4 separate regions of the Homo sapiens genome follow, and regions 1, 3 and 4 are each linked to region 2. The links are contacts of gene promoters, found by promoter capture Hi-C in blood cells and fetal thymus (Javierre and others, 2016). All regions are on one chromosome and are shown on one strand. The core of a region is centred on a gene start or on the middle of the fragment in contact, and the rest is flanking DNA. Distances in the headings are between cores, read along the strand shown. Region 1 overlaps NEK11 (NIMA related kinase 11). Region 2 holds the start of MRPL3 (mitochondrial ribosomal protein L3). Region 3 overlaps NUDT16-DT (NUDT16 divergent transcript). Region 4 overlaps NEK11 (NIMA related kinase 11).

The links. The method cuts DNA at HindIII sites, captures the fragments that hold promoters and counts their contacts. A CHiCAGO score of 5 or more calls a contact.
Region 1: a fragment that was not itself captured here is called in contact with the fragment with the promoter of MRPL3 in region 2 in 1 of 17 cell types (neutrophils); the score reaches 5.1 in neutrophils.
Region 3: a fragment that was not itself captured here is called in contact with the fragment with the promoter of MRPL3 in region 2 in 1 of 17 cell types (monocytes); the score reaches 7.9 in monocytes.
Region 4: a fragment that was not itself captured here is called in contact with the fragment with the promoter of MRPL3 in region 2 in 1 of 17 cell types (monocytes); the score reaches 7.1 in monocytes.

What each region holds. Positions count from the first base shown.
Region 1 is chr3:131,256,044-131,263,415 of GRCh38, forward strand. All of the region lies in intron 16 of NEK11 (NIMA related kinase 11), which reads left to right. Among named protein-coding and RNA genes, the nearest start is that of NUDT16-DT, 120 kb to the right of the region's middle. The HindIII fragment of the contact is 3,184 bases long and covers 1-2,971 here.
Region 2 is chr3:131,501,721-131,508,749 of GRCh38, forward strand. MRPL3 (mitochondrial ribosomal protein L3) reads right to left here and starts at 1,251. Exons shown (of 10, transcript NM_007208.4): 1 at 1,010-1,251. The coding sequence starts at 1,101. It overlaps LOC105374114 (a long non-coding RNA gene), which reads left to right and starts at 879. Exons shown (of 3, transcript NR_189111.1): 1 at 879-984. RefSeq lists enhancers at 887-1,573, 1,080-1,149. The HindIII fragment of the contact is 1,488 bases long and covers 551-2,038 here.
Region 3 is chr3:131,362,780-131,369,603 of GRCh38, forward strand. All of the region lies in intron 2 of NUDT16-DT (NUDT16 divergent transcript), which reads right to left. It also overlaps the pseudogene NUDT16L2P. Among named protein-coding and RNA genes, the nearest start is that of NUDT16-DT, 15 kb to the right of the region's middle. The HindIII fragment of the contact is 2,124 bases long and covers 3,853-5,976 here.
Region 4 is chr3:131,346,155-131,353,176 of GRCh38, forward strand. NEK11 (NIMA related kinase 11) reads left to right here. Exons shown (of 18, transcript NM_024800.5): 18 at 3,403-4,311. The coding sequence ends at 3,622. All of the region lies in intron 2 of NUDT16-DT (NUDT16 divergent transcript), which reads right to left. Among named protein-coding and RNA genes, the nearest start is that of NUDT16-DT, 32 kb to the right of the region's middle. The HindIII fragment of the contact is 825 bases long and covers 3,840-4,664 here.

The sequences.
Region 1 (7,372 bases), core at 130-2,629, 250 kb before region 2:
AAGGCTGGGAAGGAGAGAAGAGAGGAAGATAAGAAGAGATTGGTCAATGAGTATAAAGTTAAAATTAGATAGGAGGAGTAAATTTCGGTATTCTATTGCACAGTTGGGTGACCGTGGTTAGCAATATCATATTGTACATTTCAAAATGGCTAGAAGAGAAGATTTTGGATGTTCTTACCACGATGAAATGATGAATGTATAAGGTGATGGATATGCTAAATACACTGATTTGATTTTTATACAATGTATACATTTATCTAAACACCACATTGTATCCCATAATTACATACAATAATTATGTGTCAATGAAAACAAAATTTAAAACATTTTTAAGAGATTTAAGAAATTAATTTGTTCAAAGTTAATCTTTTAACCCTAAGTTCTAAAAACTTACTCTAACATAGGTCTTCTACAAAGACTATGCACCAATATAGTGATTTCAAAACTGGTTTTAAGGTAAATGCAGAAATATTTTTTATGTATTTGTTTCTTATCCTGACCTACCATAAAAGCTCAATGCCTATATTGGTCCTCTATGGATGCATAACAAATTACTCAAAAACATATGGGCTGAAAACAATGATAATCATTTATTACCTCTCATAGTTGCTGTAGGTCATGAATTTAGGAGGGCGTAACTGGATGGTTCTGGCTCAGGGTCTCTCATGAGTTTGCAGTTAGCTATCACCCAGGGCCACAGTCATCTGAAGGCTTCACTGGGGCTGGAGATTGCATTTCCCAGATGACTCACACAGCTGGCCTCAGATCCCTTCCAAATTGGCCTTTCCACAGAGAATCTTGAGTGTCCTCAAGGATAATAATGTTAGATACTGGGCACAGTTTTTAGACTGACCAATATTGCTGCCTTGGGAACCTGGATGTGGCTGATGTTCCTACCGCAAACCTGCCTGGATGGACTTCATGTGGTCTCTGCTTCTTCTCATTATCAATTTTTTTTTAAGACAGGGTCTCACTCTATTGCCTGTGCTGGAGTACAGTGGCACAATCATGGCTCACTGCAGCCTTGACCTCCTGGGCTCAGGGTAATCCTCCCGCTTCAGCCTCTCATGCAGCAGGGACTACAGGCATGTGCCACTATGCCTGGCTAATTTTTTTTTTTTTTTGTATTTTTTGTAGAGATGGGGTTTTGCCATGTTGCTCAGGCTGGTCTTGAACCCCTGGGCTCAAGTGGTTCACCTGACTCAGCCTCCCAAAGTGCTGGGATTACAGATGTGAACTACCATGTCCAGCCAAATTCATCTTACTGGCAGAGGCTGGTCATATTTCTACACCCTAATTACATGGGAGACTGGTAAGTTAGTCTTCGGCATTCATGGCTTTAATGGGAGCCAGGCTCTGTCTCACAAAGTAAAAGATTCCCCTTACAAGGGAAATGAGAATGTAAGGCCAAAAATAACAAATATTTACTATATTAATGAGCTCCACTGTTGTAAGGATAGAATTTTAGGAATAACTAGAGATGTGAAAGGAGAGATGGCCCTTGCGGTGTCTTGTGGAAACATCTCCTCTTTTGGCTTTCATAGAAGCTAAGGAGTACATGATACCAGGTAATCATTTTTCAATTTATCTTCTGTTCTGCTGACGATAGTGAGAGCTACATGCTTCCCCCGCAATTGTCAGGATTCACATTCTAATGAAAAGTGAGAACGCATCCTGGTGGTAATGTAAACTAGTACAACCACTATGGAAAACAGTATGGAGATTCCTTAAAGAACTAAATGTAGAACTACCATTCAATCCAGCAATCTCACTACTGGGTATCTACCCAAAGGAAAAGAAGTCATTATATGAAAAAAGATACTTACACATGCATGTTTATAGCAGCGATTGCAAAAATATGGAACCAGCATAAATGTTCATCAACCAATGAGTAAAGAAAATGTGGTATATATATATATACACCATGGAACACTACTCATCCATAAAAAAGAACAAAATAATGGCATGCACAGCAACCTGGATAGAGTTAGAGGGGCCATTATTCTAAGTGAAGTAACTCAGGAATGGAAAACCAAACATCATATGTTCTCACTTATAAGTGGGAGCTAAGCTGTGGGGACACAAAGGCAGAATGATATAATGGACTCTGGGGACTCAGGGGGAAGGGTGGGAGGGGGTGAGGAATAAAAGACTACACATGGGGCACAGTACACACTGCTCTAGTGATGGGTGCACCCAAATCTCAGAAACCATCACTAAAGAACTTATCCATATAGCCAAAAACCACCTGTTCCCCAAAAACTATTGAAATAAAATAAAACAAAAATTTTAAAAACTTAAAAAAAGAGAAGGAAGTACTGCTGATACACTTTCCTTAAGTATTTGAATCAGTCTTGAAGCCAGATCAACCTCCTATTACAGAAAAGCAGGTTTTGTTTTTAAAGCTAAATTTCTTCATGTTGGCAGATAAGAATAATTAAACTCCCCAAACATTGGCTAGTGTCTCCACAGGGAAAGCACAAATGAAAAAGTTAGGGTCTGGCTTCCACAAATCTCATCTTAGCCTGTATCCACATTTAATTACTGAATGTCAATCCAAAAAACAGACACTTCGTCTCTTCCTTTTACTGGTAGCTACTGTTCTTAGAGGTTTTTCCTGGTGTATTCAAAAGGAAACAAGAATTTCCAAACTCCTTAACTCTTGTTGTTTTTAATCATCTATAAAATTCAGGTGAATATTTGCAGTGTGAAATAACCATAATAAAAATATTTTATTTTCTATCTTCTGGTATTTATCATATTTCCTATAAGTAGCAAGTTTGCTTTTCCCAAGTTGATCCACTTTTTCCCAACTATTTAATTTTGGTGTAGGCAGTGGAGTCCTATTGATACACTGAGAAGCTGCTCCATGCAAAGCATTGTGGTGGACATCATGGGGAGGTAGTGTAAATTTGCCTTGGGTCTTTTGTAGCAATAATGTACCTTTATATATAAGTTTAATATACATTTAAGCTTTACTAGAGCCATAGAAGATAGGATTCTTTTTTTTGTATCAATGAGGCAACTGAGTCACAGATTTTTACCTTTCCAAACATCACAGAATCAAGATTCAAACCCAAGTCCTCTAAGCCAGCTCACATACTTGTCCTAATATGCCCCAGCTCCCTTCCTACTGGAAAGCATTTGAGGTTGTTCTCTCCTAGACCATCTTCTTCCTTTTCCTCCTGTGCTTTTCTACTCCAGCATCCTAATGTGGTTTGGCATTGACACCGCTGATGCCACAGGGTTGACAACAACTTCTTTGGCAGTGGCTTCTGCCCTGTACCAATAAAATCAATTCTCTGAAAGAGCTGGGGATGGACAAGAAGTGGTAGGAATGGTCATGTCATTATTTCTAATACTGCTCTTATCAAATACCCAACTTATTAAAGGAACCAAGACAATAATCTCCATGCCCTCAACCTTATCCACTTCAACCTTTAGGCTGGGTTTTCTAGGAAGCCGTCTCTGACAGAGTTGAGTAGGCAGGACTTTTATGCATGAGTGCCCTTGGGATTGACCCTGTGGACAGAAGGAGAAGGATGCAGGATGAGGCAGAGGGAGAAGTTGAGCAGTGATGAAGGCCTGACAAGCCTTAGCCAAACCCTCAGAGAGCTCCAGTCCCATGGGTGTTGCCAGCAAAGGCCATAATGGTTAGGTTCTCTACCTCTACCATGATCAGTCATTAAAGGTTGCTACTTGGAGGGGCATGATTTGGGGGAAGGCAGCTTTCTGAGGCTGAAGAATTTCCTGAAGGGGCCACAGCTGGAGGCTGTCTACTCCCAACAGCTGGGGTAGCAAGTTCTTCCTTCAAGGAGGATCTGCATAGTGCATCTCCATTTCTGGGGTGTTGAGGTGTTGAGGTGAGGCAGTACAGAGACTACCCTGTTTTGCAGATTCTTCGACAGTTTTGTTGCCATTCTGATGTCCACTATTGTCACAGGAGAAGCTCAAGGAAAAATCTTCACCAAGTTTGTGTCAGCTAAGCCTCTCAGCAGAGTAGAGCAGCTTTCACAGTGCCCTGCTGATTCACAGCCCCTCATAATAAGTCATGGGGCTGTCATCTGGAGAGGTGGAGAAATGAGATGGAAGACATAATGATCACCCCAAATTTCAACCTTTTAGAGGGGAAGTTCTGTCTGATGATCTTATTTTTTTTTAATTATCACATGAAACTCGTTATTTGGTTGTGGCACTTCTATGGGATGTTAGAGCACTCATTTGGGAGTCAGGAAACCACAGTTCTAGTCTGGGCTCTGCCCCTTTCTATGACCTTGTGCAAGTCATAAAACCTCTCTTGGCCTGAGTCTTCACACCTGTAAGATGAAGAAATTTGACTTGAGGTGTTCTAGGGTCACATCCAGCTCAGAATCATGATGAATCTCTATCATTTAGGCCAGAGGTCAGCAAACTATGGCCTGCATTCCAAATCTGTCTCACTGCCTGTTTTTGTAAATAAAATGTTACTGGAACACAGCCATGCTCATTCATTTACCTATTGCCTATAGCTATTTTCATGCTACTGAAGCAGACTTGAGTTGCAACAGAAATTCTATGGTCTATAAAGTCTAGAATATTTACTACCCGCCCCTTTACAGATAAAGGTTTGCTGACCTTGATCTAGGCAAATCTTCTGTCATGTCGCATTCCAAGGAGTAGGAGGAGAAATATGAGCCATGAGGATATACTTTTGCAATAATTTGGCAAAGAGTGGTATCAGTCAAGTAACTGCTATTTCCTAAGTATTCCTTAGGAAATTCAGAGCAAGACGAGGGTTAAAGATTAGGTAAGAAGCATTCTAAATGTACAGTGCACCAAGGGCAGTGTCTGTGAGGATTCCTGAGTAAGCAATGTCTCAGGTGCTTAAGTGAGATCTTGTTTGCCAAAATATCCACCTCTGTGGTCCCTGCATCAGCTCTTTATTACCCACATGGCAGGGTGTTTAGCAGGGAGGGCAAACACAGCTTTTTCTTTTATGATCAAGGTCATTTGTCCAGCAACTGAAATGGGTAAAGGGAAATTTTAGAAGAAATTTTTCAAAGAAATGAGAGAAGAAACTCTCTGCTGGTGAAATGTCAGAATTATCAAGCTGTCACTCCTTCAGGGAAAATAACTTTGCTGGTGAGAGACCATAGAAGTAGGAGGAATCCTGACAATATTACTATTATGAGCTGTGCTTTGCACTTTTAGGAAACACAGCATCCAATTGCCAAATGTGTCTTCGTATCATTTTGTTTTCATCTCATTGTCAAAACATCCCCATGGGATATTGTCAAGTGTCATAATCCTCATCATTCTATATTTCACAGATGAGAAGAGAGACTTCAGGATGATTTTGCCTGACATAATGCTCATAACATTTACTGTTGGTCCCAGCCATTTGCTTCTTAGCATTTGTTTCCTTTGATTGCTCTTTATCTTTGTTAGCATAGGCATTGTCTTCCCAAGTAAATGCTATGCCTGACCTATGTCTTAGATCACAGAATGTTAGAATTGAGGGAAGGCCTTCAGTCTAATGAAACTACTGAAATATAAAATGAGGGAAGTGAGACCCAGGGAGGTGGCCTGAGCTGGTGAGAGAACTAAAAGAATAACTGTGGTCCCCTAACTTGAAGGTTATTGCTTTTTCCACGGACCTCATTATACCTCTTTGCATGCCCCATACATAGTATAGTGTCTTATGTATATGTACTCCATAGTACTACTAGGGATCATCTGTATAGATAGCCTATCTTCTTAATTGACTGCAAGATTTTTATAGGTTAAGAATCACAGCTACTATTTATATTGCTTTTGATTTAACTCCCACCTATTGAGCATATAAAATATATGGCTTAAAAAACTGGAAAAAGATGAGCAAATTAAAGCCAAAGCAAATTGAAGGGAGAAAATTACAAAAATCAGAGTGGAAATAAGCAAAATAAAGAATGGAAAAACAATAAAGGATGTCAGTGAAACAAAAAAAAATAGGTTCTTTGTAAAGATCAACAAATATTGACCAACAAAATAAAAGAGAAGATTCAAATTAATACATCAGAAATGAAAGAGGGGACATTACTACTAACCTTAAAGAAATAAAAAGGATTGTAAAGGTATACTACGAACAACAGTATACCAACAAATCAGATAAATTAGATGAAATGGACAAATTTCTAGAAAGACAAAAATCACTGAAACTGACTCAGAAGCAATAGAAAGCTGAATACAGGGATGTGCACCTGTAGTCCCAGCTATTGGGAGGCTGAGGTGGGAGAATCACTTGAGCCTAGGAGTTCAAAGTCAGCCTGGGCAACATAGCAAGAGTCTGTCTCTAAACATAAATACACAAATAATTTTTTTAACAAAAAGAAATAGAAAACCTGAATATGCCTATCATATTCTATAGGACATAGATTTTCTATATACAAAATCATGTTATCCGCAAATTGAGATAATTTTACTTTTTCCTTTCCAATTTGGATTCCTTTGACTTCTTTTTCTTGCCCAATTTCCCTGGCTATAACCTGTAGTACAATGTTATATAAAAATGGCAAGAGAAGACATTCTTGTCAGGAGGAAAGATATACTATCCTTTCTTCATGTTACTGGATTTGACTTACTAGTATTTTAATAAAGGCAAAATTAGGGTTTTGTATTATACTTTAAGATCTGGGATACATGTGCAGGAGGTGCAAGTTTGTTACATAGGTATACACATGCCATGGTGGTTTGCTGCACCCATCAGCCCGTCATCTACATTAGGTATTTCTCCTAATGCTATCCCTCTACTTGTCCCCCAACCCCCGACAGGCCCTGGTGTGTGATGTCCCCCTCCCTAAGTCCATGTGTTCTCATTGTTCAACTCTCACTTATGAGTGAGAACATGCAATGTTTGGTTTTCTGTTCTTGTGTTAGTTTGCTGAGAATGATGGTTTCTAGTTTCATCCGTCTCCCTGCAGAGGAAATGAACTCATCCGTTTTTATGGCTCCATAGTATTCCATGGCATATATGTGCCACATTTTTTTAAATTATACTTTAAGTTCTAGGGTATATGTACACAATGTGCAGGTTTGTTACGTATGTATACATGTGCCATGTTGGTGTGTGCACCCATTAACTCGTCATTTACATTAGGTGTATCTCCTAATGCTATCCCTCCCTCCTCCACCCACCCCACGACAGGCCCTGGTGTGTGATGTTCTCCACCCTGTGTCCAAGTGTTCTCATTGTTCAATTCTTACCAATGAGTGAGAACATGCAGTTCTCACTGGTTTTCCCAGCACCATTTATTAAATAGGAAATCCTTTCCCCATTTCTTGTTTTTGTCAGGTTTGTCAAAGATCAGATGGTTGTAGATGTGTGGTATTATTTCTGAGGGCTCTGTTCTGTTCC
Region 2 (7,029 bases), core at 1-2,500:
AAAAGAAAAAATAAATAAAACCAAACCACAATTTAAAAACTTCCTCCACTTAATATAGAAAAGGGAAGTCACAAATTGGAAAGTGTAGTCAGGGCCTTGGGAAAGGGCTTGGATTCTGTATACCTTTTTTTCAGGTCTCCAACCTTTTCCTCACTCCCCACATTCCTTCGGATAAGGCTCACATTTAAACTGTTAGTCGTTACCCTGGAGAAAAAAATTCATCTTCTCCTCGCAGATAAACATATTCCCCAAAAAACAGTCCTACCTATAGACATGAAAAGCCACTAACCCATTTGGAAGTGTACCTTAATAGTTTTACATTCAGTGGAGGTGGCAGAAGGTGGCATGTTGATCTTTGTCTAACAAGCTCACCTCCTCCCTGCAATGACATGGCCTAGGTTCAGAGAAGTGAAGAAACTGGGTGTGCAAAGTTAAAAGATCCACAAAAGGCATGACCTCTGAACAGGTGAACATACCAAGAAAGACCTTAGTGGGCGGAGGTCAGGAAGAAGGGGTGTAATTCTTGCATGGAGGGTCAGAACAGAAGTAAAGCTTTCTGCAGTCTACTCTCCTTTTGTAGTCAGATAAATTCAGGCTAGATTCCTAATTTTCCACTTATTAGTTGAGTGACTTTGGGCAAATTAACTCACCTCCCTAACCTTCAGTTTTATCTGTAAACCTTATGATAGCAGTTTGCTCCCGTGAGGCTACATAAGGCACCTAATACACTTAGCAGAGCGCTTAGTACCTGGCAAACGCTCACTAATTGTAAGATATGATTGCTGTTAATAGCGTTCGCTGCTAGTGGCTGGCTCATAAGCGTTTTTTAAAAATCACCACTTCAATCCCCTTAGAACGTGCTTCCTTAGGTTAACGGCCCTTATTCTTCTGTGTCCCACGTCTCAACAGAGCCCCTTCCTCCTCCACCCAGGGGAGGCCCAACTGCACCAGGCCATTCCACTGCTTCAGGACGCAACTGTGCAGGTAGGACACCCTCACACCTTCCTACCTGTTCCCCGGGCCCAGGGCAGCACCCAGGCCGTCCCCGAGTCGACCCAGCACCTGGGCGCCGACCTGCGTCAGCAGCCTCCAACCCGGCATGGATTAGCCCGGGAAGACTCGACTCACGACTTCCGGGCGCCCTGCCGCTCTGCTTTCAGGGAGTCCCCACGCCACCGCCACGTGGACGCAGTAGCCGTGGGGAAGTTTTCGCAATGGCCGCCGGAACGGTCGCCGGCCGATGCTCTCTGCGACGGAAAGAAAGCCGCCGGACCCACTTCCGGTGCGTTTTACAATGAACTCCGGGCACTCGAGTCGCTCCCCGGAAACTATAGTTCTGCTTCCACCGTTGTCCTACTTTGGATGTGAGTTGGAGTAGGTAGGGGTGGGAAGGGACTGACTCGCCTCTCCAGGGGTAAAATAAAAGGGATGTTCAGAGTTTAAACTTTAGAAGAATAAGGACAGACTTCCTGAGGACGCTAAGGAAAATGAAGACACTTCTAAATAGTGCCCGTTGTGAGGCAATGCATTATGCTAAGCAGCGCTTCATAATCCTATATTTGTTAATCATAAAAAACGGTCCTGAAAGGAAGTATTTATTTTTCTATTATAAATGAGGAAACTGACTCAGAATTTAGGTGCTGGTCCAAAACAACACATCTGGCAGAGGAGCAGAGTTGGCACTGAAACAGGGTTGGCATGTGTTATCAATAGACTACACCCATAGAAATGATGTATGCCTTCTAGGGCTGGATCATAAAACATATTGTTACTTCAGTTTTTGTCTCTTGGATTGCTCCCTGTGGAGAAAGCTAGCCTTCATTTCCTGCAGACACTCAAACAGCTCTGCAGGGAGGAACATATAAAGAGGAATCAACTAGCCAGTCATGACTGAGCCACCTAGGAAGTGGATCCACCAGTCCTCGGCTGCAACTCATGGAGACGTTAAGCCTGAATCTCCCAGCCAGGCCGCTCATGAATTACTGACTAGGAGAAATTGCCAGAGAAAATAAATGATTACCGTTTTTTTGAGTCATTAAGCTTTAGGGTAATTTGTTATGCAATAATAGATAGCTAATACACCTGCACAAAAAATCCCCTGTCTTGGGTTCCAGATCTAGCCTAATAACCATGTATGTGACTAGGACATTTATTCTTCTACTAATTCCCTTATTTGTCAGATTACTGTTTGTAGAAATTTGGAAATAAGAACTTTAAAGTGTAGCTATTTCAACCTTCTCTTTTTACTAGAGATCTGGCTATCTTGGTTTAACAGGTCCAGACAATGGTCAATTCCTGGCCATTACTTGGACTTTAGTGGGCTAAAAAATCTTTGCTTTGCTTGTCCATTCATTCCACTCATTGCTGTTGCAGTTACCTTAGACACTTTTCAATAATACTTTGGACCTTGAAGGAAAAACTACATCTCTTCATTCTAGCCATGCTGCCTGGCTTCCCAGATACTTAAGGATGGCTCTTCATTGAACAAACATGTTTTGAGGTGTGCTACATGCAAGAAGTTGAGAATAAGAAGATTTCTGTACTACTGCCAATAACTAACATTTCTTATCCATATAGTGTGCTAGAGTATGTGCTCAGCATTGTGGAAGCCCATAAGCCAAGGCTACTAGAAGAAAACGTGAACTCATACAAAGTCAAGTTTAATTAGCTTGATGCAGCAAAAGACAGCATATGTCTGAGGATGTTTCCAAAAGAGTGACCTGGGAGGGGCTTGAAATGAAATTTGGACTTAAGGCTGAGTGATTTTAAAGTGGCATCAGAGAAGCAGGAACTTGTTTTAGAATGGGTGCTGTCAAGAAGAAAGGACAGTTCAGCAATTGGATATCTTGATAGTCTTTGTTCTAGAGACAGGAAGAACAGAGAGGAAGTGGGCATGATGTTCATAAGAAAGCAGGAATCACTCAGAATAAGGAACTGTTAGTCATTTTGCTGCAGTGGTGTGGCCTACAGTACGGTCTGTAAGAAATATTGTAATGATGGGCTGGGCGTGGTGGCTCAGCACTTTGGGATGCCAAGGCGGGTGGATCACGAGGTCAGGAGATTGAGACCATCCTGGCTGACATGGTGAAACCCCTTCTCTACTAAAAATACAAAAAAAAATTAGCCGGGCGTAGTGGCGGGTGCCTGTAGTCCCAGCTACTCAGGAGGCTGAGGCAGGAGAATGGTGTGAACCTGGGAGGCGCAGCTTGCAGTGAGCGAGATTGAGCCACTGCACTCCAGCCTGGGTGACAGAGCAAGACTCCGTCTCAAAAAAAAAAAAAAGAAATATTGTATTGATGTTCTGCTATAAACACTGCAGTCCAGTTACTAATAGTATTCATTTTTACTCTCTCAGTGTATTTTCTCACTTGATTGTTATGACAATCTGCTGTGACAATAGTATAATTATCTGGATCTTACAGTTAAGAAAATAGGCATACAGAGATTACATAACTTAAATAAAATCACCCAGCTATTAACTGGTAGAGCCAAAGACTGTGACCATAGATAGAGCTTATGCTTTTAGACATTTTGTTTCTTTGGCTCTCTATGACAAATATGTCACTACTCTTGCCTTGGAATTTCTTTAAGGCTAAAGAGGAAAATCGGTAAGTAATCACACGCAGTGGTCAGTGAGGATTGAAGAGGTAGCCATTTGGTCTAACCTTTTCCCATAGTACCAAATATCTCCTAGTCCATAAGGAGGACCTTGACAGCAGGCACCACCGCTGAACTGAATCAAAGTAAAACATGGTTTGTCTGCTGTCGTAAAAAATGTGTCTCCTGATTGCCAGCCAGGGCTGAGTGGTGTCATACTTGATTTAGTCACTGTAATATGCTGCTGACAGCTACTAGGCCCAGTTGTCAAGGGACCCAGCCTAGGCTTTTCTAGGGCAGTCAGGCACTGACCTAGAGCTTCCTGTTATTTCTGATGTCATCCTTCAGACACTGCCTTAGACCCTGAAACTGTAATGCCATTTTGCCTCTCTAAGATTTCAATTCCTTATTGGAACGAAGATAACTTGCACTTTCTCTTTTTAGTGGTACAGTTCTATAACTCTTACTCCGCTAATTCAGACCAACAGATGATCTCATAAACCTTCTCTTATTAAATAAAACATTAGGAATAGATTCATTTTTGAATTACTAAAGCCATGTTCAATACAAGAGAATCATCATAGAAGGAGCAGATTTCAAAGCAAGAGTTCACTGGAAATAATCTTTTATATGTGTTCCTGCCATTAGGCTCTACCATTAGCTCTTATAATGTTTGTGATATATCCTGTATAGTTGGATTATTGCAAGATGGTAAATTTTGTGTTGGGTAATTTCCACTTTAGTATTCATTTATGCTGTCTCTTAGTTTATAACATACCTTATATTTGAAATTAGAAATCTTTTAAACAATGAGTTTGGATTTACTAAGTTATCCTTTTTTTTCTCCATTTTTCTCAAGTTGTGAGAATCTAGCATATTTTAAAATCAGTAAAGATGTTATGAAAGTGAGTCAAGCATTCAATGGGGATATAGATAAAATAAACTTTAAGAGATTTTTGAACTTTAAGATTTCATTGCTGGCTGAAATAGAAAATTTGAAAGGCTGTATTGCAAAATCCACAGATACTCATTCAGTAAGAGAATGAATTCTGCTTCAATGTCCTTCAGTAAGGCCAAATCACAATTTGTAACTTTAATATATTGCTTTTAAAACATAATTTTTATTTGTAAATTCCCAAGTAAGCCCACAGACTTTAGGGTTCCAAGAGATGATCAGAATTAAAATTCATTTGGCTTGAAGAAAGCCTTAAAAAAATAGAAAAAAGCAGTATGGCCATGTAGTAATCTGGGTTTAAGGTTTCAAAACTTAATGTAATTATACCAATGTCCATTTTTTAAAGTTCTTTGATTACTTAGAAAAAATATTAGCAACAGACAATGTAGCATCACATGCCAGGGAACCAATGCTTTTCAAAAGGACATCTCTTCCTCCCTGGTCTTCCTCCCAATGCCAGTGTAGTTTTGATGGCCAGAGTATAGCTCCAAACCAGTGGATACTCTAGCCACCTAGAATCATAATCAGGATTACCCCTCTGAGCCTTACAGATACAGAATCTGGAGAAATTCTAAAGACTGAGTTCATTTAGGATTTTGATTCCACTTAGAGGAGGCCTAGGGATTCCCTGAAAAATGATAAATAACTAACATTTGCATTGCTTTTGCTAAGTGGCAGACACTGATCTATGTGCTTTCCATATATTAACTTATTTAATCCTCACCTGTGAAGTGGGTACTGTTAGTCTCAACCCCATTTTACAAATATGGAAACTGAGGCACAGAGACGATGAGCAGGTCATTCAAGTGCACAAACTTTACATTTGTTAAGTAAGTGGTGGAGACAGGAGTTGAGGCCAGGCAGGCTGTCTAGAGTCCAAGTGCTTAACTGATCTGCTGTACTGCCTCTGTCCTTAGAAGAGAAAGCTGCATAGCACATTATTGGAACACTCAGCTCAGCATCCAGAGGATGCCCCAGACCAACAAAGATTGATGATGATAGTGCTAAGCCTGCATCTTTAGGCGTCTCATCAGTCTAGATCAGAATCCGTCGGTCTCAAGAGAGAATGATGAGGCCGAACTGCTTGAGATATTCACCCATTCAATTCCTATGCAACCTCATTGGAGGCTTTTCAGAGCCCACGTGATGTTGAAAGCCTGTGATTCTCAACCCTGAATGTGTACAAGATTTACCTGGGAATCTTGCTAAAATGCGGAACCTGATTCATTAGGTCTAGGGTGGGATCTGAGAGTCTGCATTTCTAAGAAGCTCAAGATGATGTCAGTGCTGACCACATTTTGGGTAGCAGCATTCTAAAAATGGCTGTGAACTCAGAGCCAAGAGACTTGGGATTCAATCTCAGGTCTAAACTTAACTAGCAGTGCGACACAGAGTAAATCACTTCACCTCTCTGCCTGTTCATCTGTCCAGCTGAGGTCCCTTCTAGTCTTCTAAGTGAAAGTCCTTCTGGAAGGTAGAAAACAGTAGTTATATTATTCTTTCTTTTTTTTTTTTCTTTTTTGTAAAGATGGAGTCTCGCTCTGTCACCAGGCTGGAGTGCAGAGTCTCACTCTGTCACCAGGCTGGAGTGCAGTGGCGTGATCAAGGCTCACTGCAACCTCTGCCTCCTGGGTTCAAGCAATTGTCCGCCTCAGCATACCAAGTAGCTGAGTTTACAGGGGCCCGCCACCATGCCCGGCTAATTTTTGTATTTTTTTTTTTTTTAAGTAGAGACAGGTTTCACCATGTTGGCCAAGATGTTCTTGATCTCTTGACCTCGTGATCCACCTGCCTCAGCCTCCTAAAGTGCTGGGATTACAGGTGTGAGCCACTGCGCCCAGCCACAATAGTCACATTATTCTAAATGTTTACGTCCTAATTCTTGAAATCTGTAAATGTCCTTTATTACGTGACAAAAGGGACTTTGCAGATGTAATTAGAGTTTTGAACCTTGAGATGTGGAGATTATACTAGATTATCTGGGTGGGCCCAATGTAATTACATGAATCCTTAAAATCTGAGAACATTTCTGGCTGTGGTGAGAAATGTAACAATGGAGGAAGGGTAAGATAAATGCAATGTAAAAAGAATCAACCTAACAGTGTTTACCTGGAAGATGGAAGAAGGGGTCCACAAGCCAAGGAATGCAGTGACCTCTAGAAGCTAGAAAAGGCAAGGAACTATATTCTCCTGTAGGAGCTCCAGAATAGAATGCAACCCTGCAGCCACCTTCATAGTAGCCCAGTGAGACTTGTGTCAAACTTTTGACCCCTAGAATTGTCAAATAACAAATTTGTGTTGTTTAAGCCATTTAGCTTTGGGTACTTTGTTATAGCAGAAATGGAAGACTATTATAGACAATTAAGCCCGAAGTTCAAAATGCTGGTAACTCATATAGCAAACAGAATTTGATTTTGGAATATTTTGAGATATAACATCAAGATTTTAAGAGAAACTGTTCTATTTTCTTTATTTAG
Region 3 (6,824 bases), core at 3,665-6,164, 140 kb before region 2:
GAAGAAGATATGGCCCTAATACTTAAGGCCCTAATACTTAAGGCCAGGGAGACAGATTGTATATGGAGGTAGTTCTCAAATTTTGTCAAGTATCAGAATCATCTCTGAGGCTTATAAAAACAAAAATGACTAGATTCTACTCCCAGAACGCTGGTTGTGGGTGAGAAAGCCCCAGCTTCCACCACTCCCAAGTTCTGGGAGGGCAGGGGTTCAGAAATCTGAGATTGCTTTTTTCAAAAGTTCCCAAGTGATGCTGATAACGCTGGTCTAGGTTTCCCATTTTGAGAACCATTGTTGCAGGGCTAAGCATGAATTTTGGCGTTAGGAGCCACTAGAGGTGTAGGGGACAGAAGTCATAAGGATTAACATTGATGGAGCTGGATAGCATGTCTTGGGTCATTTGTCTGCAGAGGGTTGAGCCCACTGGGCCTCCTTTAGATAGGAGCCTTGGGCTTGTTTCTGCTGGAGTATTAAGAGTTGTGGCATCTGCTCTAGAAAGATCTGCTAAAGAGAGGATGGAGGTAGTGACATGAGCTACCTGGAGTCCCAGTGTCTCCTGTCTCCTTCCTTTTACAGGTGCTGGGCCTGGTGTGAGTGCCCCTGTACCCTGCATGATGGTGTGGGAGGCCTGCCCATCTTTCTGGAGAATTGCTTTATTGGTGCTGCCTGGGAGCAGTTACTGGATACCCTCCAGGACTTGGGAGTGGTGGAAGCTGGTGCTTTCTCAGGACTTCAGATCCCAGTTCGTCTGAGGCAACCCTCTGTGGACTCAGGGAACCTGAGCTGAGGACTTTGGTACAAGGAAGGGAATGTTTTCTCTTCCGGACCTAAAGACGATACCAAATTAAAAGAAGACATGTATATCATATGTTTTGAGCAGAGGACCCTCCAATTCATGGGATCAGGGGCAAAAATCCACAGCTCATCCCAGGGGCCCTGGCAGGTTCTCAGAGCCTACCTCTTCCTTGTATATTTGCATACAGCCTGGTAACCCCCAGGCATGCATATGTACAATGTGACCACACACAGCCTGACATCTTTCACCTGTCAAGTCCAATTTAACCAGGAATTGGCATTTGTTACCATACCCTGCCTCTTGCTTTGCAGAGAGCTTCTACAGCAAGGCTGAGTCCTTCCCACAGTCCTCCATGCCTGCTCTTTAGGGTCTACCCCAGCCCATGTTTTTTGGGAAGGATAGAGAAGCAGAGGACCCTCTTTGCTTTCCTGAAAGTAGCCATGCCCTTGCTGGAGGGTTCACCACAGCAATTGGTGGGAAAGGGTCTTAACCAATCTCCAACACTTTTCTTCTCCTGAAACTGAGAAGGGGTAAGGAAGTAGCTAGGTCCCCTTGGACGGAGCATGGACATGAGACCTGTGAGTACTGGTGTCTCTCCTTCAGAGCTTTCATCTTTGGTTCGCTGTAGACTCTGGGACTATCAGAAGAGAACTGACCCATACCTGTCTAGCCCTGCCCTTCCAAAAAAAGAGCCTCCCATTAAAGAGGAGTTAGAGCTGGGCCTTGAGGCTCTTCACTTCTTTCAACAGATATTTAATATGTACCTACTAAATGCCAGGTACTATAAAAGGTATAGAGAGCCATCCTTGCTCTCCAAGACTCCAGGGAAGGGATGGGCAAACATTTTCTTAAAAGCCAGATAGCAAATACTTTAAGCTTTGTAAACTACATAGTTTTTTAAAAAATATTTTCTAACATTGACTAATAAAAATTGCCTATGTTTACTGTGTACAAAATGATGCTTTCAAATATGTATACATTGTGGCGTGGCTAAATTGAGCTAATTAACATATGCATTACCTCACATATTTATCATCTTTCATGGTAAGAACACAAAATTTACTCTTAGCAATTTTCACAAATTAATGCAGTTTATTAACTATAGTCACCATTTGTGCAACAGATCTTTTGAACTTATTTCTCCTAACTGAAGTTTTATATTCTTCGATCAATATCTTCTCAATTACTGTTCCCTACCCCCAACCCCTAGTAACCATTATTTTACTCTCTGTTTCTATGTGTTTAACTTTTTTAGATGCCATATATAAGTGAAATCATGTGGTATTTTCACCTGGCTTATTTCATTTAACATGTCATCTAGGTTAATCCATGTTGTCACAAATGACAGAATTTTCTTCTATTTTAAGGCCAAATAGTATTCCATTGTGTATATATACCACATTTTCTTTATCTGTTTATCTGTTGATGGACACTTAGGTTGATTCCACATCTTGGCTATTGTGAATAGTGTTGCAGTGAACATGGGAGTGCAGCTATCTCTCCAGATCCTAATTTCAATTACTTTGAATAAATACCCTGTAATGGGATTCCTGGACCATATAGTAGTTCTTTATTTTTAAATATCTCCATGCTGTTTTCCATGATGACCATACTAATGTACATTTCCACCAATATTGTGTAAGCATTCCCTTTTCATATTTTCTCTAATACTTACCTTTCATCTTTTTAATCATAGCCATTCTAACAGATATGGGGTGATATTCCATAGTGGTTTTGATTTTCATTTCCCTAATAATTAGTGATGTTGAGCATTTTTTCATACACCTATTTGCCTTTCTTTGAGAAATGTCTATTCAGGTCATCTGCCTCATTTTTAATTGGGTTATGTGTTTTCTTGCTATTGAGTTGTTCATGTTCCTTATATATTTTGGCTATTAACCTCTCATCAGTTGTGTGATTTGAAGTTATTTTTTCCCATTCTATAGATTGTCCCTTTACTGTGTTGACTGTTTCCTGTGCTGTGCAGAAAGTTTTAGTTTGACATAATCCCATTTGTCTATTCTTGTTGTTGTTGCCTGTGCTTTTGAAGTCTTATCCAAAAAAATCATTGTCCAGACCAATGTCATGGAGCTTTTCCCCTGTTTTCTGTAGCTTTACAGTTTCAGGTCTTGCATTTAAGTCTTTAATCTATTTTGAGTTTATTTTTTATATGGTATGAGATAAGGTTCTAATTTTATTCTTCTGCACAGAAATATGCAGTTGTCCCAACACCATTTATTGAAGGGATTATCTTTTCCTCATTGTGTATTCTTACCCTCTGTGGAAAATCAATTGACCATAAATGTGTGGATTTATTTCCAAGATCTCTATTCTGTTCCATTGGTCTGTGTGTCTGTTTTTATGACAGTACCATGCCGTTTTGGTTACTATAGCTTTATGATATATTGTGAAGTCAAGCAATGTGATACCTCTAGCTTTGTTGTTTTGGTTAAGATTTTTTGGCTAGTCAAGGTTTTTTTGTAGTTTCATATGAATCTTTGAATTGCTTTTCTATTTCTTTGAAAAAAGTCATTGGAATTTTGATAGGGATTGCATTGAATCTGCAGATTGCTTTGAGTAATATGGACATTTTAACAACATAAATTCTTCCAGTTCATTAACAAGGGATTTGTTTTCATTTATTTGTTGGGCCATTTATTTGTGTCTTCTTCAATTCCTTTTTTTTTTTTTGAGACAGAGTCTCACTTTGTCGCCCAGGATTGAGTGCAGTGGCACCATCTTGGCTCACTGTAACCTCCTCCCAGGTTCAAGCAAGTCTCCTGCCTCAGCTTCCTGAGTAGCTGGAACTACAGGCATGCACCATCATGCCCAACTAATTTTTGTATTTTTACTAGAGATGGGGTTTTGCCATGTTGGCCAGGCTGGTCTCCAACTTCTGACCTCAGGTGATCCACCCACCTTGGCCTCCCAGAGTGCTGGGATTATAGGCATGAGCCACCCCACCTGGCTTTCAAGGTCTTGGAAGACCTACCAAGTCTGGGTAGGACTTCCAGTACTGTGTTGCATCCTTCTCTTATTTATAATCTTAGAGGAAAAGCTTTCAACTTTTTACCATTGAGTATGATGTCAGCTGTGTGTGGGTCATATATGGCCTTTATTATGCTGAGGTACATTTCTTCTATACCTAATGTGTTGAGAGTTTTTATCATGAAAGGATGTTAAATTTTATCAGATGTATCTATTGGGATGATTACATGTTTTTTATCCATTCTGTTAATAGGATGAATCACATTGATTTGCATTTGTTGACAAGGTCTATCCTTGCATCCCAGGAATAAATCCCATTTGATCAGGGTGACTGATCCTTTTCGTGTGCTGTTGAATTCAGTTTGCTAGCATTTTTTGTTTGAGATTTTTGCATCTGTGTTCATCAGGCATATTGACCTATAGTTTCCTTTTCCTGTAGTGTCTTTGGCTTTAGCATCAGGGTAATGCTGGCCTCATAAAATGAATTTGGAAGTATTTACTCTTCTTCAGTTTTTTGAAGAATTTGAGAGGAATTGTTCTTTAAATTTTTGGTAGAATTCAGCAATGAAACCATCAGGTCCTAGGCTTTTCTTTTATGGGAAAGCATTTCTTATTAATGCATCTACGTGTTATTGGTCTGATTAGATTTTATTTTTCTTCATGATTCCGTATTGGTAGAATTATGTGTGTCTAGGAATTTATCTGTTTCTTCTAGGTTATTCAATTTGTTGGCATATACTTGTTTACAGTAGCCTCTGGTGGTCTTTTGCATTTCTGTAGTATCAGTTCTGATGTTTCCTCTTTATTTTATTTGAATCATCTCTTTTTTCTTAGTCTTGATAAAGGTTTGTGAATTTTGTTTATCTTTTCAAAAAGCCAACTTCTTAGTCTCATTGACCTATTGTTTTTCTAGTCTCTATTTCATTCATTTCTACTCTGATCTTTATTATTTTCTTTTTCTAACTTTAGGCTTAGTTTGTTCTTTAGGCTTAGTTTGTTCTTAGTTTGTTCTAGTTCCTTGAGGTGTACTCTTAGGTTATTTATTTAGGTCATTTTTCTTTTCAATGTTAGTGTTTAATCCCATAAACTTCCCTCTTAGACCTGATTTTGCTGCATCACATAGGTTTTGGTATGTTGTGTCCCCATTTTTATTTATCTTAAGGTAATTTTTAATTTCCCTTTTAATATCTTCTTTGACCCATTGATTGTTCAGGAGCATGTTGTTTCATTTCCATGTATTTGTGAATTTTCTGAAATTCCTCCTGTTATTGATTTCCAGTTTTATGCCATTGTGGTTGGAAAATATACTTGATATGATTTTAATATCACTAAATTTGTTAAGTCTGATGTTTTATTTACTTTTTTTCTGTATGATTTGTCCATTGCTGAAAGTGGGGTATTAAAGTCTTCTACTATTATTGTATTACAGTCTGTCTCTCTCTTGAGATTTATTCATATTTGCTTTATATATTTAGGTGCTCTGATGTTGGGTGCATACGTATTTATAATTGTTATATCCTTTTAATGAATTGACCTCTTTCTGGTTATATAAAGATCTTCTTTTGTCTCTTTTCAGTTTTTGACTTTAAGTCTATTTGAAGTAATTATATCTACATATAGATATGTAGATTTCCCTTAATCTCTTTTAGTTTCCACTTGCATGGAATATTTTTTTAGACTCCATTTCTTGATGGGGGCGATGAGGAATAGGGCAGAGGACTAGCAAATAACTGGTAGTCAACTTTAACCTACTAAAGTATGGTCTATAAATGGAAAAGGCCATGTGGGCACACCAGAGTAAGAGGAGATCAAGGTGGAGATGTAGGTGGGAGTCTGATGAGATAGGACCTCACAGGCCATGTGAGGGGCTTGGAGTATGCTTTGGGGAAGTCACTCCTGATGTTGTGTGGAACACGGACTGGAAGGGCTAGTAGAGGAAGGAGGAGACAGAGGGAGCTGCCACATAGCTACATGGCAGATGGTGGTGATCTGGAGCAGGGAGGGGCAGTGGAGATGGGCAGAAAGGATGTGATTGCGTGAGATATTGGTGGTGGCATTGACAAGACCTACTGATGGACTGGTTGTGGGAGGAAGGGAGTAAGGAAGAAAGAAGATTCAAAGATGACTTTTATGTTTGTGTCTTAAGGCGTTGATATTGAGGATGTAGGGAAAGCCTGGTGGGTGGGGGAATAAGCTTTTGAAAGAGACAGGATCAAGGAAGACATTCTGGGCAGGTTAAGACAAATTTGTGATTTGTCTGCATAAAGGTGATAGAAAAACTTAGACTGGGTGAGGTGATCCATAAAGAGAGAAAAAGAGTGCTCAGGACAAGGCCCTGAGGAAGCCCAACCCCCAGAGTTTGGGCAGAGGGACAGGGCATGTAAAAGGAGAAGAGGAGGAGAGAAAGCTGCTTTTAGAAAGTAGACTATGCAGAGTGCTTGTGAGGGTTTAGGTAGAACGGAGGCAGAACTGTACACTGAATTCAGTAATATGAGGGTTTGATGACCGTGATGGCAACAATTTCAAAAAGGGTGGCATAGAGGACAGACTCAATTGGTTGAGTGAATGGAAAATGAGGGAGCAGAAGGTAGGACAAGCTGGCCCTAAAGGGGCTTAGGGTGATCACTAGAGAGGGCTGTCGGGTCAGGGAGTGTTTAAGGTGGGAGACAGGGCATGTGGATGTTGATGGCAACAGTTAAGATGGCAAGAGGAAACAGATGGGAGGGTGATCAGGAGGAGGACCCCTGAAGAGGCATCGTCCATGAGAAAAAAGGAGGGATGGGACCTTTGTAGGAGGAGGGACAGGCCTGCAGCGTAACAGGGCTCAAGGAAAACAGGAATGAGGCACGCATAGAGGATTATGATGGCTAAATTGATGGGAAGATGATAGAATTTGAATCTCTTCTTGGTGAAATGAAGTGAGACTATCAGCTAGCTGTGGGTGGAGCATGTTCTCAGAAGGTATGAAGTAAACATTCACTTTGGTGTGAAAAAGCAAGTTAAGGAAACAGCAGAAGGGCAGAGCAAGGCTGAGCTCTGA
Region 4 (7,022 bases), core at 3,002-5,501, 150 kb before region 2:
ATTGGGAATTTTTGTTAAATAAGTAGATTTTAGCTGTTCTTGTCATAAAAAAGTAACTATGTGAGGTCATAGATATATTAATCTGCTTCACTATAGTAACCATTTTATTATCTATATGTATCCCAAAACATCATGTTGTAAACCTCAAATATACACAATAAAATTTAAAAATCAAAAATAAAATATTTTTTAAAAGAATAAAGGAAAACATTTGAAGTAGTCATTTTGGGAGGAAAATAAACATACTGGGGAAACACGGTAAGATTGCTGGGCAGTGCTGAGTGCCATTCTGAATCAAGATTATCATCTTAAATGAGAGACTTGGTATATTTGGATGCTTTTCTCCATAAATATTCTCTTGTTTGGGTACAGCCATGGAGTAGGTATACGACTGAGTTTAACCATTAGGTCTTTGCCAAACAAAGGGAAAGGGGTGGAAAAAGTCAAAGGTATTTGCGAGATAATGGTTATGATGATGGGCCATGAAATTAACTGTGAGGAGGTAGGTGAGGAGTGAGTATATGAGGTTACAAAAGAAGTGAGTAATTATTATCATGGGGGTAGAGTCGAAGTGAAGGGCACCATGAAGTGGAAGATTAGCTGGTAAGTATGGTGGGAGGGCATTGAGGGGGTGATTAGAGAGTAGGAGGCTTGAAATCAATTTCAGAGGTCATGTAGTCATTGGCACTGATGAGGTCAATTGATATGATCATGGGAATGGGCAACTCAGGTAGGGTAAAAGAAATGATGGCTGAATGCGAGGCAGTTCAAAACCAGAGACAGCAAGAATACAGAAGTTAAGAATGATGACAAGAGTACAAGGTGGAAGAAAGAGTGGGCTAGTCACTGAAGTAATCAGTGTATGAAGAGAATGACCAGGGTTTGGTAGATGTCAGCAAAAGAAACACCTGGATTTTGTGGGGGTGACTGAGGTGACTAGGGATGTTAGGCATGCTGGAATCAGTCCTGACAATCTCATGACAGAAGGTGGGAAACTTATTGTGGAGCCTAGGGCTGCTGGTTTCTCCAGCATCTGGTGTTTTAAGATCAGCATTTGAGTCCAAACTCTACCACACTAACTGTGTGAGCTTGTGAAAGGCTACGAAAAACCTGCTTATTCTCATCTGTAAAATGAAGACAAATGTTCAATGAATTGCCTAGTTCATAAGGAGCATTTGAAATAATGAATGCAAAAGCACTTTGCAAGCTCTAAAGGGCTATAGAAATGTTAGTTAAAATTAAAAATTTATGTCTTGCATTGTCATGACCAGCCTTTAAACCAGAGCTAGAAGAATTACCTATTCATCTCTTTATCGGCCACAATACGTAACACATATCCTATGATTTAGAGATTACAAGCTTGAATAACACTGAACAATAAAAGCTTATAAAATGAATGAGTCTGTGACTAATGTCTCCAATGTTATTATCAACATTACCATCATTACTGTTAAGCATTAATGCTTCAAAAATTGTGAAAAAAGGCCGGACACGGTGGCTCACACCTGTAATCCCAGCACTTTGGGAGGCCAAGGTGGGCCTGTAATGCCAGCACTTTGGGATCACCTGAGGTCAGGAATTCGAGACCAGCCTGGCCAACATGGTGAAATCCCATCTCTACCAATATTACAAAAATTAGCCAGGCGTGGTGGCAGGCACCTGTAATCCCAGCTACTCGGGAGGCTGAGGCAGGAGAATCGCTTGAACCTGGGAGGCAGAGGATGCAGTGAGCTGAGATCACACCAGTGCAGAGACTTCATCTCCAAAAAAAAAAAATACACATCCTGGTTTTTCTTTTTACCAAATCCATTGAAATGAAGAAAAAGTAATATTTCTTCAAGTTAAAGTCACACAAATATTTATACACTTTGACCTAATAATCTCATTCCCATAACATTTTTATCATTTAATCAAGCACAACATATATTTACTCTTTTCTCTGTTCTTCAGAGAAAAGTGCAGAAACCATAAGTACACATATAAATTTTTAGAGTGAACACACACATAATAGCCCAACTCCTAAAAATTTGATGTCATAAAATATTCCCCTAAAATGTAAAAGCCTAATATCTAAAGATGAGGTATTCACACTATGTTATAGTGCAAAGGAGCAAAAAAAAGCTCATTGTTTGGTGAAGGGAAAATGGAGTAAATATTGGCACATAAATTCAGTGGAACAATATGGAGCCATTAAAAACGACAACCGTGAAGAACCGCAAAACAAAATCCACCAACTTGAATGCCCTTGAGTTAAGTGGGTAGAAGAACTATGAGAAGGAGCCTGGTATAAGATGATAAAAGATAGGGGAGGTAGGTCAAAGACGGTCAGAAAATGCAGAGTACAGAGTGCTTGCAGGCCCCACATAAAGACATTCACATTAAAACATTTAAAAATAATAAAGGAAGATAAAACATGGTATTGAAAAACAAAACATGTTATGGACCAAATGTTGCCCATAGGTCTTTAGTTTGTGACCCTTTCTGGAGATAGAGGAAAATAGTCAACGGTGAAATAAACATACTAGATATGGCAATATGATTATAACATAAAGATTATGTTGACATATGGACAATCACTGGAAGTGTGGAAAAAATGAATGTCGGCCTTGGTGGAAACTTGGCCAAATAACTTTACCCCTTTTAAGCCTCAGTTTCTTCATCTGTAAAATAGGGATTTAAAAAATTGCCTCCTTCGTACAGCTGTTGTAAAGGTTAAGTGTGATTGAAAGGGCAAAGTGAGTAGAAAAGGACCTGGCAAGTGGCAAACAAAACTATTCTCCCCCTCATTTTCCTCCTCCTCCTCCTCATTATTATTTTGTTATTATTAACTATTTCTGCATTTTATATCCCACCATCCTGTTTCCCTTTGTTCTACTAACTCCAGCCACAATAGCTTTCTTGTTATTTTTCCAATATGTTTTAGCCTTAGGGCCAAAATTCTTTTGCCCCTAGTATTTGTCTTACTTCCTGAGAGCTTTTGCTCAAATGACACTTCCTCAGAAGGATTTTCCTGTCCGCCTCACCCTGCTTTTTCTTCATTGCACTTAGAACCATCTGATATCTTATGTGTATATGTGTATATATACATACGTTTATATAAACACATCTGTGTGTATATCTGTGTATTATATATATATACACACACAAGGGCAGGACTTTGCCTAACTTGTTTACTGCTATATTCCCAGTTCCTTGAAGGGTACCTGGCACATAATAGACATTGAGGCATTATTTGTTGAATACTGTTAAATGTTTAGGGTGGAGATATTGTGCCTTTTCTTCCCCCTTTTTTTCTAAATCCCAGAATGACAATGTTTGTAAAATCAATGATTTAAAAGCACATTTTCCTGCAGGTGATCTTAATGTGTAACTCTTTGTAATCTTTTGTAACTTTTTTGACAGATCAGCCATGCAGAAGCTGGGGACAGAAGTATTTGAAGAGGTCTATAATTACCTCAAGAGAGCAAGGCATCAGAATGCTAGCGAAGCAGAGATCCGCGAGTGTTTGGAAAAAGTGGTGCCTCAAGCCAGCGACTGTTTTGAAGTGGACCAGCTCCTGTACTTTGAAGAGCAGTTGCTGATCACGATGGGAAAAGAACCTACTCTCCAGAACCATCTCTAGGCAACTATCAAAAAGAAGCAGAAGTTCAAGTGGACAAATTTATGTGAAAATTCATTTAACATATAAGCTGAACTCTATTATGGGGAATGGATACAAAAGCAGAGCTCCCATCTTGACTTTCAATTCCTCATCAGAAGTACTGGCTTCTTTAGAGAGTAGTAAGCATGGCTGCCTATGCTTGGAGTCATAAGTGTTATTTGGACTATACCCTGAGATAAGCTTATAGATCAAGTTTGGCTCCCTTGAAAAGCATTTCTCTCATGTGCGCCCTCAGGGCTTCCAGCAGGATTGAGTCACCCTGACGATGACCGGGGAGAAGCCGTGTGCTCTTCATTATTTTCAGCTGGAGGACAGAGCTCAGTGCCTGACTGCCTAGGGTCTCATGGACTGTAGGCAGCCTGCCAGTGAAGGTCACTGGACTCTAGCCTACAACATGCTGAGCTACAGCCCAGAAGCCAGACATGCCTGTCTTAGCTGACCTGTTTTTGGTCCACTTTTGCCCTTCCATGACTAATAAGGAAGATATGTGTGTATTTCATACACACACAAGGACCTGGATTAAAAATCCAAAAAGTGATTCTCTTCTATGATTTATTTCAAACTCATCCATAGATAATTCAAGATTTGTATTCAAAATAAACATAGTTTTCACAGTTACAAAATAAATCACCTATTTTATCTTTTCCTTATGTAAAACTTTCTTATTGAATGTAACATATCCATCCTTTGATAATTATTACTTAGAGCCAGTAATATTTGGTTAATTTGGTGCCTGTTGGGTACTAGTACTGTGCTTAGTAGTTTAAGGGCCTTCATTGGATCTTTTCACTAACTTGAGAGAGATAGAGTGAAAGAGAGAGAAAGAGAGAGAGAGAGACAACAGAGAAAGAGAGATGCTCAGGTTAGGTAATTTGCTTAGTCACTCAGCTGCAAGAAGCAGAGTTGGCATTTGAAACTAGGTCTGTCGCATTCCAGAATCCATACTCTTAACCAGTGTCTATCAGAATTTTCAACCATGGAACTATATTAGATTTGCTTGTGAAGCTTTTTAAACATAGACACATTTAAATATACTGTTAATGAAAAAATTATTGACACTTATTGAAATGGCAAAAAGACTGTAATCAGGACTATTTTGATAGGTATCAACAATATTGCAATATGGGAGAGGCATTGGGCTCAACTCTGAAGTTTCTTTGCTGAAGCAAAGAAAACTAGAGATTAATAGCCAATTAGCAGGATACGGGCCTTGGTGGATGGAAAATTTCTAAAAGGAGTATTCAAAGGTTGGGGGTTGTATTCATCTGTTTAGTGTTGCCATAAAAGAATACCAGAAGCTGAGTAATTTATAAAGAAAAGAAGTTTATGTAGCTCACGGTTTTGTAGGCTGAGAAGTTCAACGGCATGGCCCTGGCTTCTGGCAAAAGCTGTTGTGTTCCATCACAACACGGCAATGAAGGGGAAGTGGACAAGTAGGAAGACAGAGAAACCTGAGGGGTGTCCTGGCATTATAACACCCACCCTTTGGGGAAATAATCCATTCCTTCAAGAAACAATCCAGCCTAGAGAGCAAGAACTCCAGAGCAGTAGCAAGCTATTTTTCAGGGTGCTCCCCCATAATCCAAACATTTTCCACTAGGCCCCACCTCCCAACATCACCACTTTGGGGATCAAATTTCAACATAAGTTTTGGAGCAGGCAAATATTCACACCATAGCAGGGAGATTCCTGCTAAACTGACTTAAGATTCCCACTGGAGGAAGGCCAGGGTCATCAGAGATTGAGGGCAGGTGATGAGGAATTTGATCAGATACTGAGGGTGATCAGCTATCAAATGTGGGGTATTCTCAATAAACTGACTTTACCAGAATTCTTGCTAAAACTGGGTTTGGCAGGCTGAAGACAGAGCCAAGAATGAGGCCTCATAAAAAAGAGGGCTCAAAAGAGCCTGTCTAAAGTTTGGTCGAGGAGATAATCTTTGTCAATACCAAGACCCACCCCACTCCCTTCTCTGGGAAGACAAGGGGCTAAAACATATCTATTGTTTCAGAACTGTCTGGGTGAATTTGATGCCCACAGTACTGTTATTCACTTTTCAGCCTCCTGCTGATGACTGAGGAAACTAAGAGAGTTTCTTTATCTTACTAACTTGTTTTCAGTGGTGCTGTGCTTCCTGCATGATGCACTCTTTTAGACCAGTGATTCCCACATTTGAGCATGCATTCGAATCACCTGGAGTGCTTGTTGAAGCATAGATTGGTGGATTCCATCACCAGCATTTCTGATTCAAGAGATCACGGTTTCTAACATGTTTCCAGGTGGTGCCAGTGCCACTGGTACCACACAGAACAATTGTTCAAGACCTTTCTTTCTGTTGTCTCTCTTCTCCCCCTCCCTCTTTTTGGAACAGTGTTTTGGCTGCTCTTAATTGGGGGCTTAATTAATCTCACATCTTGGAAGGTGGTATGAGGACTTCCAAGAAGGGTCCAAAGACTTCAAATGCTTCACAGTGAATATAAGCAAGTAGTGACTGGGGTGGAGTGGTAGGTGAGTCAGTGTGAATAACTTGAGAGAACTTAATGGGCTTATTTTAAGGACAAAGGGGCATGGCCACTGTGCCCTAACACTCTATCCTGTGGCTTCACTTCTATCCCTGCCCAGCAACCAAAGGAACCACCCAGGTGAACCCACAATTTCTCTAGTGCTCAAGGGTTATGAACATCACTCTTCTGAGTTCCCACAACTCCCTTACACTATAGAGAGGTTTTGGGGGCTGCACAAAACTTCATTCTGCCTCTTCCCAAAGCTAATGATGCCCATTCTCACCCTCTCTCCCTGCATACTGGAGAATTATTCCTGGCTGGGAGGCTGGGGGTCAGGAGCATGTCTGTGCTCTCACAGCCCCTGTGTCTGCAGCAGGAAAAGCAGACCTCAAATACTGCTTCTGGAGGTGGGATCTGAGACTTTTCAGAATTTGGAACTTGAGTGTGTTTCCCAGGTCAAAATCTACGACCCGTGGTTGTTGCCATGGTAGAACACTGAAAATCAGGTTTGCCCTGGGAAACCTAGGATGATGGGGGCATGTGACCACACTGCTGCTGACAGCAGGCATGCAAATTGCCATCACATTAACAGGGAAGAGACCTCACCCCAGAAAATGCTCCCCAGAGCTCACATGCCCTTTTGTGACCAACCAGATTGCAAATATGACTGGAAGAGCGGGGACCATAATATTACCCCAGTTAATAAAAATTGCCCAATCTTCTTGTCGATGGTTTTTATAACATTAGAACAGAACAAAACTTGTGTGCTGGGTCCTAAGAGGAAATAGCTAGATTTTCAAATAGTTTCTTTCACAAACAGATTCACCTTCCTATCTTGCATTTCAGAACATGGTTCT